Regions from separate parts of the Homo sapiens genome. Here regions 1 and 2 are each linked to region 3. Evidence: promoter capture Hi-C in 16 types of primary human blood cells and fetal thymus (Javierre and others, 2016). All regions are on one chromosome and are shown on one strand. The core of a region is centred on a gene start or on the middle of the fragment in contact, and the rest is flanking DNA. Distances in the headings are between cores, read along the strand shown. Region 1 overlaps LOC105378519 (a long non-coding RNA gene). Region 2 overlaps FAM24B (family with sequence similarity 24 member B). Region 3 holds the start of ATE1 (arginyltransferase 1).

Evidence for each region. The method cuts DNA at HindIII sites, captures the fragments that hold promoters and counts their contacts. A CHiCAGO score of 5 or more calls a contact.
Region 1: a contact is called between a fragment that was not itself captured here and the fragment with the promoter of ATE1 in region 3, in 1 of 17 cell types (M2 macrophages). The highest score is 6.6, in M2 macrophages.
Region 2: a contact is called between a fragment that was not itself captured here and the fragment with the promoter of ATE1 in region 3, in 1 of 17 cell types (activated CD4 T cells). The highest score is 5.9, in activated CD4 T cells.

What each region holds. Positions count from the first base shown.
Region 1 is chr10:120,944,478-120,947,848 of GRCh38, forward strand. The region is part of intron 2 of LOC105378519 (a long non-coding RNA gene); the gene reads right to left. Among named protein-coding and RNA genes, the nearest start is that of WDR11, 95 kb to the left of the region's middle. The HindIII fragment of the contact is 164 bases long and covers 1,564-1,727 here.
Region 2 is chr10:122,872,107-122,875,727 of GRCh38, forward strand. All of the region lies in intron 1 of FAM24B (family with sequence similarity 24 member B), which reads right to left. The region is part of intron 1 of FAM24B-CUZD1 (FAM24B-CUZD1 readthrough); the gene reads right to left. Among named protein-coding and RNA genes, the nearest start is that of FAM24B, 5.7 kb to the right of the region's middle. The HindIII fragment of the contact is 1,007 bases long and covers 1,605-2,611 here.
Region 3 is chr10:121,926,781-121,930,540 of GRCh38, forward strand. ATE1 (arginyltransferase 1) reads right to left here and starts at 1,251. Exons shown (of 12, transcript NM_001001976.3): 1 at 1,064-1,251. The coding sequence starts at 1,169. It also overlaps the pseudogene ATE1OSP. RefSeq lists enhancers at 463-612, 1,151-2,017 and silencers at 923-1,342, 1,533-1,832, 3,654-3,760. The HindIII fragment of the contact is 6,802 bases long and covers 1-3,760 here.

The DNA.
Region 1 (3,371 bases), core at 396-2,895, 980 kb before region 3:
AGAATTCTGAGGAGTTGACTTTCGAAAAAAGGCAGCACAGAGAGCCAGGCTGCAGCCTACCCCCTTCACGCCTCACCCCACTTGGCTTTTTAGTGCACACACGTGTGTGTGTGTGTACAGGTGTGTATACCCACTAGCCCCACATATCCACGCCCCCACCCAGTTCCAGCTGAGCCATCACCCACAGAAGAATGATGGACCCAGGGAGAGAGGCCCACACAAACCTGGAGGTTGGCTCAGGGTTCCAGGTATCCGTGACTCTAAAAGGCAGGGTACAGGATCCAGGGGAAGCCCATCCCCAGCCCCAGGGACCCCTTGCCCTAGATAGGGCATAGCCTGATGAGACAGAGCAGGCCCCACCCCTGCCCACCAGGGCTCCTTGCTGGCCAGTGGGAGGTGGAGGCCTTAGAGTTATAAGGAGCTGTCAGGTTGGTCCCACTGAAGCCACACTGGCTTTGGGCCCCTGGGAGCCTGACTGTGAGGCCTTTCTGAAACCTCAGGTAGGCCTGACAGACAGACAGGGCTGCAATCCAGGGCTGAGCGCCTGCCTGGAGATGGGGCTCCAGGAGGGACTGGGAGGGCTGCCTGGAGGCGGGGGCTGTTAAAATGCAGCTCTCTGGGCCCTGCACCAGCCCTTCTGAATCAGTGGAGCTGGACATCTATGTTTTAACAAGACCCTCCTTCCCAAGGATTCTAACACAACACTAAAGTGTGAGAAGCACAGCTTGGAAACATTTTGTTTTATTCATGCAGTCAACAGATATCCACAGAACATCCCCTCCCTTGGCACTCTCAGTTTCCTGTCCCCTGCAGCCAACAGGAAGTCAGCTCTTCCCCACAGATTCTCTCCCTCCTCAAGTTTCAATTCAATTTCACCTCCTCAGGGGCACCTTTTCCAAAATGGCTGCCATCTCCCGGCCCTCAACACCACATCCCCTCTCCTAGCTCCTTCTTGGCCTTTACCACTGGTGCAGATGAGCTTCTTGGAGTATTTATTTTACTCATTGCCATGCCTCCCCCTCTAGAATATAACCCCTTCCCCAGGGCCAGGGCCTGATACATGGGAATCATTCCTTTACTGCAGTGTTGCTGGGATATAATATGCCCATAAACCTACTGAGTATTTGATGAATGATGAATAAGGCCGCTACCACTCAGCAATTCATTCATTGCCTCTTCCCACAATGGGACAATGGGGCAGGTGCCTTTTGGATAAAGAGGGAAGGTGTAGGTGGCGGAAGCCTCCGAGCTCTGAAGACCCTGCATGGCTGTCTGCCCGCCCCTCCATGAAAGGGGCAGCTCTCCCAGGAAAGAGAGGAAGAGAGGCCAAGAGAGCTCACAAATGGGTGTCTTCTCTTGTGAGGAAGGATTCGGGGCTCAACACGCTTCCTGGGGCTGGGTCTGTACAGGTAGAAGGAAGAGGCCCAGTTGGCTCCAAGCCTGGGCCAGCCCCAGCCCTGCAGCCTGGCGGTGTGCAGGCACCCTCACTTCAGAACATGCTTGTATGCACTTGCTCTTCTGGCACGCCATGAACTGTTTCTTGGCTGCCTTGTTAGGAGATTAAGCTTTCTCTAAAAAGATGAAAAAAAAAATCTCTAGCAAAGGCCTGACTAGAGCTGACCCCCGAGGAGGCGGTGGCAATAACTGATGGGCACTACATTTGTCTAATTAATCTTCTTGTCAACAAAGTTGTTCTTTGCCGGTGCCAGCTCTGACATCATCCTGCAAGCTTGCCACACTGGTTCATATGCAGTTACAAAGGCTGCCTGTGACCCAGCACTACACTCCCTAACCACCCCCAACACGCTGCTGCCTGGAAATGGGTGGATGAGAACAGAGATGTCACACAGCTGCTGGCTTAGAAGGGGCACCGGGGAATCACAGCTTGAATGAAAGTTGGATAAAGATCTGGAAGGTTCAGGGGATCCCCAGGCTGGAAGGAGCCTGGTTTCTAAATAGGACACCGATGCCGACCATCTTTTTCAAGTTAAACTTTGGAAAGTTCCATTTGCCATGCAAACTACCCTTGCCCTGGATGGGTTGCCCCAAGAGTGACCCAGGAAAGTTTAGGTGGTAAAGTTGCAAAATCAAGTGGCTTCAGGGCCCAGGCAGAGATTTCACTTTCAGTGCCCTGGGATGAAATCTCTGGATGTCCACGAGGCTGACCTGGACTTCCCGGATTGGGAGGCCTTGTGGTCAAAAGCCGAGTCCAGTCCTGAACACCAGATCTAAATGTTCAAGAAGACTGTGCAGATTTACAGGCTAAATCAGAGTCCCTGGTAGCTGTTTCCGACCTCTGTATGGGGCTTTTAGAGTGAACTGTGGTCTCATCCAGGCGTTTCCCGACCATTGCATCCCACACAGGGCCTCCCTTCTGATTTTATCGTTAGTCTCTCTCCCTGTTGATTTCCTCCAAGTGCTCATCACTGTCCACACTCACCCTGTTTATTTCTGCTCACCGATCTGGCTTTTTAATCGAGGAGTCTGTGAATAAAATCTGGAGGAGGGGGGTCTATGAACTTGGACAGGAAAATATTTATATCATTATTTTCACTGTCTGAGATTTAACAATTTACTCAATTATGAAAATCGGCAACAAGCCACAGTGTATTAGCAGTGTCTGTGACTTTGTCTCCAACAGAAATCACAGCTGTTTTTCTATCACGTCGTAGTTGATGCAGTTATCTCAAAATATCAGCTGGGCTAATCACTATTTTGAAATGACTGTAGTTAATAGATTGGTCTGTAGATCCTGTTACATCCTCTATCAACGAAGAACATATACGAGTATAGCACCACTTAAAAATATTTTGATAACTGCATGACAGTATAATCGGTTTGTTTCATAATCCTGTGTATCTTAATTTATGCTTTTTTCAAATATTCTGGCCTCATGAGACTGGCAAGAAAGACTGTAAGCCATCTTTTCTGTTACTTTTTCTTTCTTTCTTTCTTTCTTTTTTTTTTCTATTTTTGAGACGGAGACTCTCACTCTGTCACCCAGGCTGGAGTGCAGTGGTGATCTCGGCTCACTGCAACCTCCGCCTCCCGGGTTCAAGCGATTCTCCTGCTTCAGCCTCCCGAGTTCTCTTTTCTATCCTTAGCCCCGACCTTGGGTTCTGGCACACAGTAAGTGCTCAAGACAATATTATTGACTGAATTAATGAAGGAACCACTGAACAAATGAATTAAATAAGTGAACTGAACAAATGAACATGAGCCTTAACGTGGCCGTGGGTCCACGTCCATGGACCCACGTATTCTGGAAGGTGCAGAAGTTTCCACGACCCTTTGCCACCTGAGCTTCTGTCTGTGCGACATCCACACTACCCACCAGGAGAGACGGGGGTCTTGCTACCTCCACTAAGAAC
Region 2 (3,621 bases), core at 858-3,357, 950 kb after region 3:
TATCAAAAAGTGGGCGAAGGATATGAACAGACACTTCTCAAAAGAAGATATTTATGCAGCCAAAAAACACATGAAAAAATGCTCATCATCACTGGCCATCAGAGAAATGCAAATCAAAACCACAATGAGATACCACCTCATACCAGTTAGAATGGCAATCAGTAAAAAGTCAGGAAACAACAGGTGCTGGAGAGGATGTGGAGAAACAGGAACACTTTTACACTGTTGGTGGGACTGTAAACTAGTTCAACCATTGTGGAAGTCAGTGTGGCGATTCCTCAAGGATCTAGAAGTAGAAATACCATTTGACCCAGCCATCCCATTACTGGGTATATGCCCAAAGGATTATAAATCATGCTGCTATAAAGACACATGCACACATATATTTATTGTGGCATTATTCACAATAGCAAAGACTTGGAACCAACCCAAATGTCCAACAATGATAGACTGGATTAAGAAAATGTGGCACATATACACCATGGAATACTATGCAGCCATAAAAAATGATGAGTTCATGTCCTTTGTAGGGACATGGATGAAGCTGGAAACCATCATTCTCAGCAAACTATCGCAAGGACAGAAAACCAAACACCGCATGTTCTCACTCATAGGTGGGAATTGAACAATGAGAACACATGGACACAGGAAGGGGAACATCACACTCTGGGGACTGTGGTGGGGTGGGAGGAGGGGGGACGGATAGCATTAGGAGATATACCTAATGTTAAATGACGAGTTAATGGGTGCAGCACACCAACATGGCACATGTATACGTATGTAACAAACCTGCATGTTGTGCACATGTACCCTAAAACTTAAAGTATAACAATACAAAAATAAAATAAAATAAAAAAAGAACAGGTTGAAGCTAATAGAGGTCAGTTCATGAGGTTTAAAAAATAAACCATCTCCATAACATAAAAGTGCAAGGTGTAACAGGAAGGTACAGCAAGTTATCTAGAAGCTGCTCTAGCTAGGATAATTCATGAAGGTGGCCACATTTAACAATGGATTTTCAGTATAGATGAAAACAGACTTCTATAGGACAAAGATGCCCTCTAGGACTTGCACAGCTAGAGAGGTCAACGCCTGGCTTCAAAGCTGATTCTGACTCAAAAGTCAGGCTGACTTTGTTGCTGGGGACTAATATAGCTGATGATTTCAAGTTTAAGCCAACGCTCATTTACCATTCTGAAAATCCTAGGGCTCTTAAGAATTATGCTAAATCTGCTCTGTCTTTGCTTTATAAATGGAACAACAAAACCAGGATGACAACACATTGGTTTACTGAATATTTTAAGCTCCCTGCTGTGACCTCCTGCTCAGAAAAAAGTTCCTTTCAATACATTAGTGCTAACTGATGCTTGGCCAGGGCCACCCAAGAGCTCGGATGGTGATGTACAAGGAGATTAATGTTTTCATGTCTACCAACACAACATCCATTCCGCAGCCCATGGATCAAGGAGTAATTTCAACTTTCAAGTCTTATTGTATAAGAAATACATTTCATAAGGCTTTAGTAGCCATAGATAGCAATTTCTCACAGTATCTCTTAGGTGTGCCTATATATTGCTCTTCTTTCTCTAGTTTCTTAAGGTGAAAGCTTACATAATAGATTTTAGATCATTCTTTTCCAACATGTACTCAGTACTCTCCGTTTCCCTGTAAGCACTGCTCTTGTTGAATTCTACAAATTCTGATGAATTGTATTTTCACTTTCATTTAGTTTGAAATATTTTTAAATTTCTCTTGAAACTTCGAGCCAAGTGTTATTTTAGAAATATGTCTGTTAATCTCCAAATATTTTAGGATTTTTCAAGTATTTTCCTGTTACAAATTTCTAATTAAATACCATTGTGATCTAGGAACATACTTTGTATAATTTCTATTCTTTTACATTTGTTAAGGGGTGTTTTATGGCCTAGAATGTGCTCTATCTTGGTAAATGTTCTAGGAGTGTTTCAGAAAAATGTGTATTCTGCTATTGTTGACGTGTCCTATTAATACCAATTAGATCCAGTGGACAGATGGTACAATTCAGTTCAACTATATTCTTACTGATTTTCTGCATGCTGAAACTGTCAATTACTGATCCAGGGTTGTTGAAGTCTCCAAGAGTAATAGTGAATTTGTCTATTTCTCTTTGCAGTTCTATCAATTTTTGCTTCACATATTTGATGCTCTGTTGTTAGGTACATATACATTAAGGATTTTATTTTGCCTTCATTTATTCCTTCTCTGATGCTCTTCCTTTATATAGATCCAAGTTCATGACCTTGGATCATTTTCCTTCCCTCTGGAGAACTTATTTTAATATTTTTTGCAACACAGGTTTATCACTGACAAATTTCCTTAGCTTTTGTTTAAGAAAATCTTTAAGTCTCCTTCACTTCTGAAAGGTAATTCTTGTGGATACATTCTAGGTTGGTGTGATTTCTCTTTCAACATTGTAAATATTTCACTCCAGTCCCTTCTTGCTTGGTTTCTAATCAGAAATATAATTCTTTTCTTGTTCCTCTATAGCATGTATTTTTTCCTCTGGCTCCTTTCAATGACTCTTTGACTTTGGTTTTCCCATCTTGAATATAATATGCCTAGGTACAGACTAAGCTTGTCCAACCTACAGCCTGCGGGCTGTATACGGCCCTGGACGGCTTTGAATGCAACCCAACACAAATTTGTAAACTTTCTTAAAACAGCATGAGGTTTTTTTTGCAATTTTTAAGCTCATCAGCCATTGTTAGCGTTACTGCATTTTATGTGTGGCCCAAGACAATTCTTCTTTTCCCAGGGTAGCCCAGGGGCACCCCTGGTACAGACCTTTTAGTATTTATCTTGCTTGGTGTTCTCCAAGCTTCCTGCTCTAAGAACGGGTTTGGTGTCATTAATTTTGGATAATTCCCAACCATTATTTCTCACATATTTCTTCTACTCTCTTCTCTTTCTTCTACTTCTGGTATTACCATTATACATGTTATTACAAGTTTTATAACTGTCCAGCAGTTCTTGGATAGTCTACTTTTTCATCTCTATTTTCTTTGCTTTTCAGTTTTTATTAACAGTTCTTCAAGCTCATTTATTCTTTGGCCTGTCCAGTCTCCTGATAAACCCATCAAAGGCATTCATTTGTCACATTGTTTTTTGACTTCTATCATTTCCTTTTATATCTTCCTTAGAGTTTCCATATCTCTGCTTACATTACCCATTCACTCTTGTATGCTATCTGCTTTTTCCATTAGAGCCCTTATATATCAATCATAGCTACCTTAAATTCCCTACTTGAGAATTACAAAATCTGCATCATATGTAAGAATGGTTCTGATATTTCCTTTGTTTCTTGTTCTTTCTTGCCTTTTACCGTGCTTTGTAAATCTTTGTTGAAAGCCAGACATAATATATCTGGAAGAATATATAGAAACTGAGGTAATCAGGCTACTTGATTCATGTCAATCTGACTAGAAGTTAGGCTGTGTTTAATGTTTGCTGTAGTTATCAGTGTCAGAGGCTTCAATCTACTATTCTTGCTTTGAGTTTCCACATTGTCATTGTCTTTGGGTATCCCCAGAGACTCCTTTTAAATAAAATGTAGTCTGATAATAATTGGTCACAGCTGGCACT
Region 3 (3,760 bases), core at 1-2,500:
GTAATCATGTCGCATAAGCCATTTGCATCCTGTTGATTTTCTCCGTTTAAGTCCAAACTGGAAGCATTTTTCCATTTAGTCTTCATAATCCTCACTTCTAACGATTGCATAACTGTCTACTCAAAACCGCTGCCCACAAGTAGCACTTAATAAACACTTTTAATGAAGGAGCAAATGCACACACCGTTATCGACCAAATCATTCCCCACTTACACCTTTTTCATGGAAAATGCCTGTGTGTTTTCATGCGAATCTCGTTTTCCACAAAGCTAGACTGTTCTATTAAAATAATAGAGTCTACATTCTATATTGGCAAATGCATGGCAAGAGAGGAAATAAACACGATGTTTTGTTTACCAGCAACAAATCTCCCCCAAAGAAATCTGAATCACGATGGAAAAACAAAACAAACTTGTGGGCTGGCTTTGCTGTCGTCCGGGTGGGTGGAGGAAAGACACGGCATATAAGCAAATGGTAAAAATTTCAAACAGATCAGGACAAACAGAATCCCTCGCCGGTAGCGACCGCGGTCACCAGTTTCTTGTCCTTTTTTTTTTTAACTTTTTTTTTTTTTAACCCAGAGATGCAAAGGGCTCATCCTTCCTGTACATTCGTCCAGGGAAGTCTGATTCATACATGACCGGCACCTGTGTGCACACCCACAGCTCCCTCTGCACCGCGTTTCGCCCTCGCTCCCGGGACGCTCCCACCGCAGCACCCACCGGTCAGCCCCGGCCATTAACTACGGCTCTGGGGCGTTCCCTGGCACTGCGCGCCGTCCTTCACCTCACACAATCTACCCCAGACGGGCGTCCGTCTCCCGACTCTGGGGAGACCACCACGATTTCGAGAGTACGGGCACCGGTTAGGATTTTCCTGCAGAACAGGCACCGCGAAGCTGCCCCGCTAAGCCGGCGCCGCGGCCCTCCCGAGAGTGCCCCCTCCGTCTCGGCCGTGGCACTGGGGCCAGGGGCTCCGGCCCCCTCGCGTCCTCGCTGGGGGACCCTGGGATCCCGAGACCCGGGCGCCCGGCTTCCCACGCCCGCCGGCCCGGCTCGCTCACCATTGGAGCGGCTGCCCGACTCGTTCTTGCAGTAGCCGCAGCGGTAGAAGTCCTCGCTAGGGAAATAGTCCACGACGCTGGGCGAACCCCCCGCCCAGAAAGCCATGGCCTCGGCCCCGCGAACGCTCAGCCGCCCGGCCCCGCGTCGCTAGCGCGGCCGCCGCCGCCACCCCACAATGCAGCGCGCCGCCCGGGAGCCTCCCGAGGCTCGCGCGAAGCCACTCGGGCGCCCGCAGGCCCGGCCGGCCCGGCGCCTCTTGGAGCTGACGCCGCCCGCGCCATCTTGACCGAGGGCAGCTTTCCACTATTTCCGTTCCTTCTCCATAAGGGGCCGCCGTCGTCAGTGAGGGTGAGGCGGAGAGACAGAGCGGGAAGGGAAACAGGATGGGGAGAGTCAAGAGGGGAAGGGAAGCGGGAGTCGGGGTGCGAGCCTGCCCTTTCCCCCGCCGAGGGCCTGTGCGGGGCGCGGCGGCCGCGCCAACTCCGGCGTCGGGAACACTCACCGCAGGACGCTTTGCCCTCCTTGGAATCGCAGTAGCCGCAGTGGTAGCCGGCCCTGAGGCCCTTGTATTCCACCACCGACGCCATGGCCGCCGCGAGGGTCCGCTCGGGCCGACCACGCCTCTTGGCGCCCGGGGCCGACCTCGGCGAAGCGCTGGGGCCCGCGGCGGGAGGGGTGGAGAGCGAAGCCTGGCGCGGGGACCCGTGGGCGGGGATGGTGGTCGTGTCCCCAAGCCCTGCGTTTGGGCCGGTGCTTCCCACAGCTGTGCGTTATCAGCCCCATTTCACAGGTAAGGAAACTGAGGACCGGAGGTTGTGATTATCCCAAAGTCATTCCCGGCGGGTCTCGGATTGAAAGTCAGGCCGCCCCTGGCCACCGTGTAAGTGACTTGCTGGAGCTGCTTCCAGACCAGCTGGCACGCACTCCAGTGCCCTGAATACAAGAACACAAGCAGGTATTCCGTGAATGGCGAGGGTTCGCAAATTAAAGAACTCTTAACGGCTTTTAAAGGAAACAACTGTCAGCTAGAGACAGTTGCTGTCTTGTACCACTATAAGTCCGGTGCCTCATACGATTTTTAATGAGATGCTGGAAATACAGGGTTTGTTTGTTTTTTTTAACTCTACAGTCCAAACAAAACAGTTTTACAGGCTGAATCCAGCCCATGGGCCTCCATTTTGCAACCACTATTTTAAGGAAGATTTAAGGAATAAGAGTCTAGGGCAAAATATAAAATTGAGGCTCATGCCTGTAATCCCAGCACTTTGGGAGGCCGAGGCGGGCGTATCATGAGGTCAGGAGATTGAGACCATCCTGGCTAACACGTGAAACCCCGTCTCTACTAAAAATACAAAAAATCAGCCTGGCGTGGTGGTGGGCGCCTGTAGTCCCAGCTAGTCGGGAGGCTGAGGCAGGAGAATGGTGTGAACCCGGGAGGCGGAGCTTGCAGTGAGCCGAGATCACGCCGCTGCACTCCAGCCTGTGTGACAGAGCAAGACTCCATCTCAAAAAAATTTTTTAAAAAATGAGTTCCAGGGGCGGGCGCGGTGGCTCACGCCTGTAATCCCAGCACTTTGGGAGGCCGAGGCGGGTGGATCACGAGGTCAGGAGATAAGAGACCATCCTGGCTAACATGGTGAAACCCCTTCTCTACTAAAAAATACAAAAAATTAGCGGGACGTGGTGGCACGCGCCTGTAGTCCCAGCTACTCGGGAGGCTGAGGCAGGAGAATGGCGTGAACCCGGGAGGCAGAGCTTGCAGTGAGCAGAGATCGCGTCACTGCACTCCAGCCTGGGCGAAAGAGCGAGACTCCATCTCAAAAAAAAAAAAAAAGAGTTCCAACAAGGTAATATGCCTTATCTTTCCCTCTGCGTGCACAGATAATTTAAGCCTGTCTGTCCTCATAGTTTTCCCAGTCAACAATAAAGCTGATGATACAATATTGTTTTAAGTGTGTTTAAAAAAGTGAAATGAAACTCAGAGAAATAGAAATAAATTTTTGAGGTGAGTTTTGACATTCTTGACCCCAAGGGCCTGTGTTAGATATGTACCTAGCTGAAGGAGGTTTCTTGGTGGCCTGGTGACTTGTTGAAGGGGGCCAGCCCCTCCACACCTGTGGGTGTTTCTCGTCAGGTGGGACGAGAGACTGAGAAAAAAAGTAAGACACAGAGACAAAGTGTAGAGAACAGTGGGCCCAGAGGACCAGGGCTCAGCATACGGAGGACCCGCGCCAGCACTGGTCTCTGAGTTCCCTCAGTATTTATTGATCACTATCTCTACCATCTCGGTGAGGGGGATGTGGCAGGACTATAGAGTAATGGTGGGGAGAGGGTCAGCAGGAAAACGTGAGCAAAGATCTCTGTGTCATAAGTTTAAGGAAAGGTGCTATGCCTCAATGTGCACGTAGGCCAGATTTATGTCTGGCTTTACACAAACATTTTAGTGCAGTAAAGAGCAATATTGCCGCCAGCATGTCTCACCTCCAGCCATAAGGCGGTTTTCTCCTATCTCAGTAAATAGAACGTATGATCGAGTTTTACACTGAGACATTCCATTCCCAAGGAAAAGCAGGAGAGAGATGCCTTCCTCTTACCTCAACTGCAAAGAGGCCTTCCTCTTTCACTAATCCTCCTCAGCACAGACCCTTTATGGGCTGGGGGACGGTCAGGTCTTTCCCTTCCCACGAGGCCATATC